Regions from separate parts of the Homo sapiens genome. Here all the other regions are linked to region 3. The links are contacts of gene promoters, found by promoter capture Hi-C in human tissues and cell types (Jung and others, 2019). All regions are on one chromosome and are shown on one strand. Each heading gives the region's core, a stretch centred on a gene start or on the middle of the fragment in contact. The rest is flanking DNA. Distances are from core to core; before and after follow the strand shown.

Region 1 (2,968 bases), core at 136-2,635, 37 kb after region 3:
TAAGTGACATGTATGCAACATTAGTTATTGCAGTAGTGTTTGTAATAGCGAAAGCTGGAAACAACCTAAAAGAACATTAGTTGGGAAGTGGCAAGATAAATCGTAGATATCCATCTAAGGTTTGCAATTGTGAAAAGGGATGCAGAAGATATTTTGGGCTGATATAAAATCAGGCCCAAGGGGAAAAGGCAAAATACAGAACAGTGTGTGTGCAAGATGTTCTCAATTGTATAAGAAAAATATGGACATGTCTATATAAGTATGTTTGTTATATACACAATATATTACTAGAAAGAAATATAACAGTAGCTGTTTAAAAGAGGATAACTGGGGGGAAAGTCTTTTTACTTTATACACATCTGCATTAAAAAATTTTAACGTTCATGTATTGCCGTTTTAATTTAAAAAATTGTTAACAAAATCTATCCATATAATTTAAATACTAAATATTGCCATAAAAGTTGGCAAATAGATGTTGCTACCCACCTTTTCCTTGCCTTTGACCAAGATGAGTAAATCCACCAACCCTGAGAAAGGAAATCTGTCAGTAACCACTTCCCTTAGAAAATTCATTCGCTTTGACTGTCATCTGTGCTTTCATTCTTGCTGATGACTTTTGACAAATTGGGAAAAGACTCCACCAGCGAGGTGTCCCTGAGAGGCCAACTTCAGAAGGGGATCAAGAAAATGAGCCTCCACCTGTTATCTCTCCCTAGTAGCTGGGACTACAGGTGCCTGGTTGTTCAGGGATGGGCTCCAGGCTTGTGCAGGTGTGAATCACCCACTTCTGGATGGCAAATATGGCAGCTGCCAGGCCTGACCTAATGAATTAGAATCTCTGTTATGAGGCTCTGACAGCTACATTTTTAAAATCCCCTCCCTGCCACTTTGAGGTAGTTCTGAGACCCACAGCTTGGTTAACTGCCTCCCTCTCCAATTTACACTTAAATGCCCTGAATTTGGCCTCACTAAAAGATGACAGTTTCCTAATGGACTTCTCAGCAAGATGACATAAAAAGTATCCCCTATGAAGCTGGAGGCAGAATACTGTTCAGTCCCCAACAAGGGTGTCCATGTTCTAATTCCTGGAACCTACATATATGTTATCTTCCACGACCAAAGAAAATTTCCATATCAAGGTAAGGGACTTGAGATGGGGATGGCATCTTGAATATCTAGTTGGGCTCAATCTAATTACATGAACCCCTAAAAGAGAAGACCCTTTCCTAGCTGTAGTCAGAGAGAAATGTGTATGGACAAAAAGAGATGATGGTGCTGGCTTTAAAGATGGAAGATGGGGCTACAGCCAAGGAATGTGGGTGGCCTTTAAAAGATAAAAAACTCAAGGAAACAGATTGTACCCTGAAACTCCTAGAAAAGAACATAGCCCTGCCGACATGTTGATTTTCGTCCGCTGAGACCTGTGTAGGGCTTCTAAGTACTCAGGAGGCTGAGGCAGGAAGATTGGCTTGACCCCAGGAGGTTAAGGCTGCAGCAAGCCATATTTCCAGTACTGTACTCCAGCCTGGGCGACAGGACAAAACCCTGTCTCTAAAAAAAGAAGAAGAAGCAGAAGCAGAAGAGAAGAAGAAGTGGAAGTGGAAGTGGAAATGGAAGAGGAAGCATTAGCAGCAGCAGAAGAAGGAGAAGGAGAAGGAGAGGAAGAAGAAGAGAAGAAGGAGGAGAAGAAGGAAGAAGCAGCAGACACTGCATGGCAGGATTGAGGACCCAATCAGAATAAATTTGTGTGAGATGATAAATTTGTCTTGTTCTGGGCCACTAAATTTGTGATACTATGTTACAGTGGTAATGGGAAGCTAATATATAAATATTTTGGGCAAAAGTGTTCAATGTGAATCTAAGATTACAAGAAATACAGCGACTAAAGGAATGATTTAAATGATATTAGAAAGAAATAACCAGGGCTAGGTATGGTGGCTCACACCTGTAATTCCAGCACTTTGGAATGCCAGTGTGGATGGATTGCTTGAGTCCGGGAGTTCAAGACCAGTCTGGGCAACATGGCGAAAGCCCATTGCTACAAAAAATATGGAAAATTAGCTGGGTGTGGTGGTGCATGCCTGTAATCCCAGCTACTCGGGAGGCTGAGGCAGGAAGATCTCTTGAGCCCAGGAAGTGGAGGTTGCAGTGAGCTGAGATCATGCCATTGCTCTCCAGCCTGGGCCACAGAAGAAAATCCTGTCTAAAAAAAAAAAAAAAAAAAGAAAAAGAAAGAGAAAAAGAGAAAAAAGAAGGAAGCAACCAGCAACCAGGCAAACTAAGATTTAGTATGTTATTGAATCAGCTAATTCTTAGTTTGGCTTTATAGATTGGCTAGATTATTCACAAGGCAATGTTAAGCATAAAAAATCCAAAAGGGACTGCTTTGGGTGAAAACAGACAAAGGAAACATAACCAAAAGTAATATATGATACTTGATTAGATCCTAATAAAGCAGCCTATAAAATACATTCTTGAGGCAAATGGAGAAATTTGAATATAGTCCTTATAGTAGATTATATCATAGAATTATTATTAATATTCTTAGTTATGATAATGTGGTTAGTAGAAGAATATTATTATTCCTGGGAAATACTTGCTGGAACAGTTAGGGGCAAGGTATCATAGTGTCTGCAGCTTACTGGAAAAAAAGAAGGAAGGGAAGAAGGAAGAAAATGAATGAAGAAGGAGAAATAGACAGTAAAGAAAGAGAAAGAAATAAGTATAGATGGCAAAATGTTGACTCCTGTGTAACTGGACTGAAGGGTTTCTGGGAGTTCATTGTACAATCTTTCTATTTTGCTTATATTTTAAGACATTCATAGCAAGACTTGGAGACCTGAGCTAGTGGAGAGTTTGAAGACAGAAGAATGGACCCTGAATCATCTGTCTTGGAGATACTATAGATGGGTTGATCCTTGTGTGTTGGATTTTGCTATGGCTTTCATTCATGTCTTCATTCATTTAT
Region 2 (3,301 bases), core at 782-3,281, 64 kb after region 3:
TAATAGTCTCTGATGACTTTTGTATTTCTGTCGTATTTGTTGTAATGCCTCTTGTTTCTTTTCTGATTTTGTTTCTATGGGCCTTCCCTCATCTTTTTTTGGTCTATCTAGTAGTTTATCAATTTTGCTTATCTTTTTAAAGAATCAACTTTTTCTTTTATTGACCCTTTGTATTTTTTGGTCTGTATTTCATTTAATTCTTCTCTGATGTTTATTATTTCTTTTCTTTCTGATAATTTGAGGTTTTGTTCATTTTTGCCTTTCCAGTTCCTTAGGATGCATCATTAGATTGTTTATTTGAAATCTTTCTACTTTATTTTCTGTTTTCTGATTAAATCTTGATGATATAACTGACATGGCAAATAACCCAAGAGGGTAAAGTGGAACTCTCAATGGAGATATTTAGATAGAATAGATTTAAGAGACCAAAGGGAATTGTGAGTCAGATGCCACAATCCTAAGAATATGCAAAAGATGAGGAAACAAAGAATTACTGTAAACTCTTTGCACCCCTTGAAGATTGAACTCTACAGCCTGCATGCTCCAGGCTTCAATGCACTCTGCCTTTTGGTTGGGTTCAGCCAATAGGAAGCATTAGCAGGAGCTAGGGGTGCAGTAGGAGAAAAGAGAGAGTGCTTATGTGAGTCCCTTGAAACACAATCATGGTGCCAGTATGGTGAGGTCAGGTGGGAGTTCTAATCTTAGCCACACACCAGCCAGAATAAGCCTTTTTATCATTTCATTTCCTTTCTTCCAGGCTGGGGTGGCTGCTTTCCTCACTTAGGGCCACTCGGCAGGTGGCTGATCTCCAATATCCAAAACTATCAACAGGTTCCAGGTACACTCATACCAGGGGGTGGTAACAGCTCCCCAGTGTTGCTACTTCTGTATGCTTCACCATCCCTGGCTGGTCTCATTAACCCTCCCACATATTTGGTAAATGACTCCTCTTTAAGTTCTCTTCAATTACCCTTCTGAGTGTGCCTCTGTTTTCTGTAGATACATGCCCTCATACAGACAGCATACAGGGGCAGAGAGCTGGGATTGAAGGGAGGACCTGTGAAGGGGATTTCCTTTGAGAGAGCTATACTGTGAGCCCCCACCTGACCTCAGCATACTGGCACCATGATTGTGTTTCAAGAGACTCATGAAAAAAGAAGGAAGGCATTCTCCCCACCTCACTTCAAGTCAAGAGGGGAGTTTTCACAAAGCCACTCAGAAAGCTCGACCTTTCCCTGGTGTGCAGGGGGATAAAATATCCCGTCTGATTACTTCATGAGAAATCTAAAAGTTGAAAGGTCAGTGGAACAGTTGCTGGCAGCTGAGGCTAGAGGAGAAGTGTCTGTGAGGGAACTTGCTGGTGTTCTGGTGTTCACTGGAGCAAAGGATGCCTGAGTGTGTCACATGAACCAAATACGGGTGAAATCAGAGCAAATCAGCATAAGACTTCCCAGGTCCCATCCAAAAAGGTCTTTAGGGAAGCCAAAGGCAACGTTGTAGAACATTTGAAGCTCCAATTTCCCAGGAGTTAAGAAGGGTAAGCAGAGCTGGGCATGGTGGCTCACATCTGTAATCGCAGCACTTTGGGAGGCCGAGGTAGGCGGATCGCTTGAGCTCAGGAGTTTGGGGCCAGCCTGGGCAACATAGTGAAACTTGTTCTCTACAAAAAGTACAAAAATTAGCCAGGCATAGTGGTGCACACCTGTAGTCTCAGCTACTTGGGAGGCTGAGGCATGAGAATCGCTTGGACCCAGGAGGCAGAGGTTCCAGTGAGCTGAGATCACACCACTGTACTCCAGCCTGGGCAACAAAGCAAGACTCCATCTCAAAAAAAAAAAAAAAAAAATGTCATGGGCCTTGCCTGAATTCTCATCCAGGGGCAAGAAAACAACAGCCCTGTGCACACAAGTGAAGGGGCAGTGACAAGCCAGCATCAAGTTGCTTTGCAACCACTTCCCACAGGCTACGCTTATTCAAAATAGCTGTTACAGCAACGCATATTCCTTTCTTTCTGTTAAAAATAGAGATGGAGTCTTGCTATGTTGCCCAGGCTGGTCTTGAACTCCTGGGTTCAAGGGATCCTTCTCCTGTGGCCTCCCAAAGTGCTAGGATTACCTGCAGGAGCCACTGTGCCCAGCCAGCTATGAATATTTTTCAAGCATTAACTGGCAAAACTAAGTAACAGGATCAAATCCATTCCTTAAATTGGGGCAACAGATCACCGTGTTTCTCAGGGTAAGAAGGATAGAGGAAAGTGCACAGCACCAGCCAGCCAACACAGAAAGCCAGGGAAACGGGACTCTGCAGGAGCATAGAGCCCCACCCGGTTCTAGTCTCCAGGGATTGGGAATTCAGGAGGATGAACATTGCGTGTGCCTGGAGAAGATAATGAATTAGGTTTGAAACAAACACACTGAGTTTGTAGAGGTTGCTCTTTGTACTGAGAAACTATAAGGCCTTGGGTATGTTTTTTATTCTCTTTGGGCCTCAGTTCCCAAATTCATAAAACATGTTGTTTAAATCAGATGATATTTAATGTTTATTGGCCTAAAAATATCTGAATAACATGTACCTAACCAGAAAAAGAAAAAAGCACTAAAGTATCCCGTTAATTTAGAAGATTGCATTAATCCATGTTAATCCATGTTAGCCTGGCCTTTTTTCTACCTCAGACCATTAAGATTATGTAAAATGAATGTATTAACCTATTCTCACACTGCTATAAAGAAATACCTGAGACTGGGTAACTTATAAAGAAAAGAGGTTTAATTGGCTCGTGGTTCCACGGGCTGTACAGGAAACCTTATAACTTCTGCTTCTGGGGAGACCTCAGGAAGCTTCCAAACATGGCGGAAGGCAAAGGAGGAGTGGCACATCACATGGCAGGAGCAGGAGGAAGAGAGAGGGGAGGTGCTACACACTTTTTAACAACCAGATTTCACGAGAACTCACTCGTGATGACAGCACCAAGGAAGGATGGTGTTAAACCATGAGAAACCGCCCCCATGACCCAATCACCTCCCACCAGTCCCACCACTCCTCCACCAGCATTGAGGATTACTTCAACATGAAATTTAGGTGGGGACACAGATCCAAACCATATCAATGAATAACAACTTTTAAAATGTTCTGCGTAACTTCCATTGCAGGGTAGAGTGGTTTGTTGGTGTAAAAGGTGTTCCCGGAACATAAACAAAACTAATTAAAATATTGACAAGAAAAAGAGCCCTGGAGGTAGAGGAGGAGACTGCCTCTGTTCCTTTTATTCTCTCCTGTATTTGAGTGAAGTGGCTGCCTGGGC
Region 3 (3,482 bases), core at 690-3,189:
TGTGTGCATGTGTGTGTGTGTCTGTCTCTGTGTGTGTGTCAGTGTCACTGTGTGTGATTCTGTGTGTGTGTGCCTATGAGTATGTGTGTGAATGTGTCTAGGTGTCAGTATGTGTGTGTCTCTGTGTGTCTATGAGTGTGGTGTCTTTGAGTGTGTTTGTGTGTGTTTGAGTGTGTCAGTGTGTGTTTGTGTGTGTCTTTGTATGTGTGTCAGTGTGTATGTGTATTTATGTGTCTGCGTGTGAGTACCTGGAAATGAGGTTGGAAGGGCAGGATGAGCCAAGGAGGTGACTGCCCCACAGCCTGCTCTGATGCTGTGCTGCTGAGTCTAGAAGGGAAAGAGCAAAGCAGACGCTGGGATGGGAGTCACAGGAAGGGGAAGGGCCACAAGGAGCCAGTGGGGAATGTGCAGTGTTACCTGGCAAAGCTCAGAGAAGCACTTCCCAGAAAGACCCCGGAGTCCACATGTTTCCTTGTAAATATGTTTTGTGTTCCAACTGCAATCTGCCTCCAGAAAGAATCTGCCTGCCTCCCAAGGATCAAGTAGAATTTTCCATTTTGTAGGAGACTCCCCTTGTTGAGCAAAGCAGCTTTGCCTTGCCTATGTCCAAATAATCCTCCAAAATACCGCATGAGAGAGCCTGTTCGTGGAGGTCAGGGCCTCAGCGGGGTGTTTGTGAGGATAGTGAGGACGGACCCCTGGGTGAGGCAATTTTAGGAGAGAGGCACACAGCTTCAGAAATGGCTTCTTCCAACAGATTCATGCAGAGACTGAGCCTCTGAGTAAATTGGTCAACATCTATAGCTATGACCACGGAATTCTCAAACAGGTGGATCGTTCATAAAATCCAAACACAGTTACAAGTTTTGGCCTGCATAGTGTTGAGCTACAGCTTTATTTTTAGAAAATTTTAATTAGCTGCCAACCAATTTCATATAAACACATCTGGATTTGGGGATGTCATTTTAAAAATCAGACAGTGTGACAATACTGAGCCTAATCCCTGCATTTTCTCAGTCAATTGGAGATGAGTGTTGACCTCTATGGAGGCAGAGACTCTCTAGTTTGCCACAGTCCCCATCACTCCCTATTGCCTTATCTCAAACCCAAAAGTCAGTTGCCATTTAATATCACACTAAACAATAGTTTTCTTATGGCTGAATTAAGGAAAAGTGAACAATTTCTTCTTCTGAAAATCTATGAAAGGTGAGGTGATAATATATAATGAGGGCCACATCTTCCCTGTAGAAGTGAGTTTCTTTTTAAATGCTGCATATGTAAATAACAAATGTCTGTTTTCAAAGTATACAACTTAAGACCCTGTCATGAGGCAAAACGATTCTGCTCCACTTTATGTTAACAGCTTAGCCCAGTAAAAATTTAGTATGCAGCTATAAAGGAGACGTTGTTATTGTCAGCACACTGCAAATGGATGATGGGAGAGGCTAAGTGGTTTGGGCATAGCACTCAGCTAAACACATGCTGTGGCCAGGATTCCACCTGGGTCATTCTGGTGTGGGACTGTGCCTGTAGCAGGCAGGGCAGCCTGAGCTCTCTGAATGAGACCTGAAGGTAAGTATTTACAACAGTAATCTTATATTAAAAATTCCCTCTTTACCAGCCTCTCAGAGCCTGGTAGAATTCCCTGATAAAAAAGAGGGAATTTTTAATGTAAATTTCCCTGCCTCTAGAATTAGGGTATCCTCTGCTTATGTAGTAACTTCAGATGGAAAAAGGAACTCAGACACTACGAAAACTTCGGCAACTTCAGTCACCCATTCAACAAAGATTTATTGAGAGTGGCAGGCAGGAAGAGATCAGACCATGGATGTAGAGAATCTCACTTTTAATTTTGAGATGTTCCTTTTCCTGCCTCTGTGAACTTGGACAAGCTCTTACATATCTCCAGAACCAATTCCTGCTTTTGTAAAAGGGGAGGAATCATTGCACTCCCTACTAGAGCGGATGTGATGAGGGAAAAGGAGAACTCAGGTAAAATGGGCTCAGTAGTTTGGCAGCTCGGATCATGTCATTATAGTTATTTTACTCCTCCATAGACATCACTGCTGGGGTCCTCTCCCCATCAAGGAGGGTCACTGTGAGGCTGAGTTGTCCTCCTATCCTGGCCACAGGGTGGACAGGGAAGGGCCTAGAGGAAGCGTTTGATGGCATGCAGGTAACCCCCCTTTTCACTGGATTACATCCAGCACTTTCCCTGCAGGAACCGGCTCCCTCGGAGGGGCGTGGCTGGGAGGAGCTGTGAGTAACGTGCCACAGTGTTGTAAAAACCCAGTGAGTGTTATAAAAACCCAGTCAGCCTGGCTCCTGTTGAATAGTCTACCCCCCTTGCACTCTACCTGACACAGCTGCAGCCTGCAATTCACTCGCACTGCCTGGGATTGCACTGGATCCGTGTGCTCAGAACAAGGTAAGAGCCTCGCTCCTTTAACAGCTTTATTACCTGCTGCCACTTCTCACTCCACCAAGGGCCTGGAGTTCCTTGGGCCTGCATTCCATCATGGGCAGGTGGGGGCTGAGCCCCAGGGCCGTGAGAAATGACTGGGTGTTTTTCTGGCATATCCAGTCTCCTCTTCACCATTTATTGCTGTTCTCTGCCCTTTTGTGATTGTCTTTCTCCTTCTTAACCCTAGAAGATGGCCAACTTCTAGGGTAGAAATCAGATCAGGACCATTTCCTGGGTCTGCCTCTTTTTATAAAAAATTCTGTGTTTTGTTTTAAATGGAGCACAAATAATACAAATCATCTTATCATTATGTGTTATATGAAACTAAATTGTCATTGTTCATAGTTGTTTTTCTTATTCTTTGGCAATGTTTTTAAAGGGCAGAGTAAATGTGAAAAGCAAAAAGTGATCAACCAGGGGTGACAGAAAGGAATAAGGAGATTGATCTGGCTACCCATACCAGCTTTGAACTTGCCCACTATGAGATCCTGAGCAATTTACTTACCTGTCTGAGCCTTAAGAGTCAGAGCTGTCACCTGGGATGACATATTAATAGCTACCTGGAAGAGCTCTTGTGTGGATTTCACAAGGTGGGAATCAAACCCTAGACCAGTACTTAGCACACAGGAGGTGTCATATAGAAACTGACTTCTCTTCTTCTGTTAAGCATGGGTTTTTATTGTACACATGATCAGATTCATGCAGTTCAGTGTGACGTTGGTGTTCATCCTATTGATTCAATGATTTCTCATGATCCTTGTCTTCGATCTTGTAGTGTGAACTATCTGGTTGAAATTCACCTCTCTCCACCCTGATTCACTTTGCCCAGGCAAATCAGACAACCACCCCACCTCACACCTTTCCTTAAACTCTTACTTCCCCACAAAAAGCTCCCCCACCCCCACAACCCCACCCACCCCACCCAAACCCCAGGCATGTTCAACTCTGGGTCAACATCACCTTTCATGATGCTTACCACATCCTTTCTCATTTTGGGCATCTGTCATGTCTTTTCTCA

Evidence for each region. The method cuts DNA at HindIII sites, captures the fragments that hold promoters and counts their contacts. A contact is called where the count stands out against the background at its distance.
Region 1: a contact is called between a fragment that was not itself captured here and the fragment with the promoter of FGFBP1 in region 3, in 7 of the 25 tissues and cell types used here (H1 embryonic stem cells, dorsolateral prefrontal cortex, heart left ventricle and 4 more).
Region 2: a fragment that was not itself captured here is called in contact with the fragment with the promoter of FGFBP1 in region 3 in 1 of the 25 tissues and cell types used here (spleen).

Annotation. Positions count from the first base shown.
Region 1 is chr4:15,899,839-15,902,806 of GRCh38, reverse strand. No RefSeq gene overlaps it. Among named protein-coding and RNA genes, the nearest start is that of FGFBP1, 37 kb to the left of the region's middle. The HindIII fragment of the contact is 6,221 bases long and covers 1-2,968 here.
Region 2 is chr4:15,873,880-15,877,180 of GRCh38, reverse strand. No RefSeq gene overlaps it. Among named protein-coding and RNA genes, the nearest start is that of FGFBP1, 63 kb to the left of the region's middle. The HindIII fragment of the contact is 3,755 bases long and covers 154-3,301 here.
Region 3 is chr4:15,937,197-15,940,678 of GRCh38, reverse strand. It overlaps FGFBP1 (fibroblast growth factor binding protein 1), which reads left to right and starts at 1,939. Exons shown (of 3, transcript NM_005130.5): 1 at 1,939-1,992; 2 at 2,208-2,428. The HindIII fragment of the contact is 13,154 bases long and covers 1-3,482 here.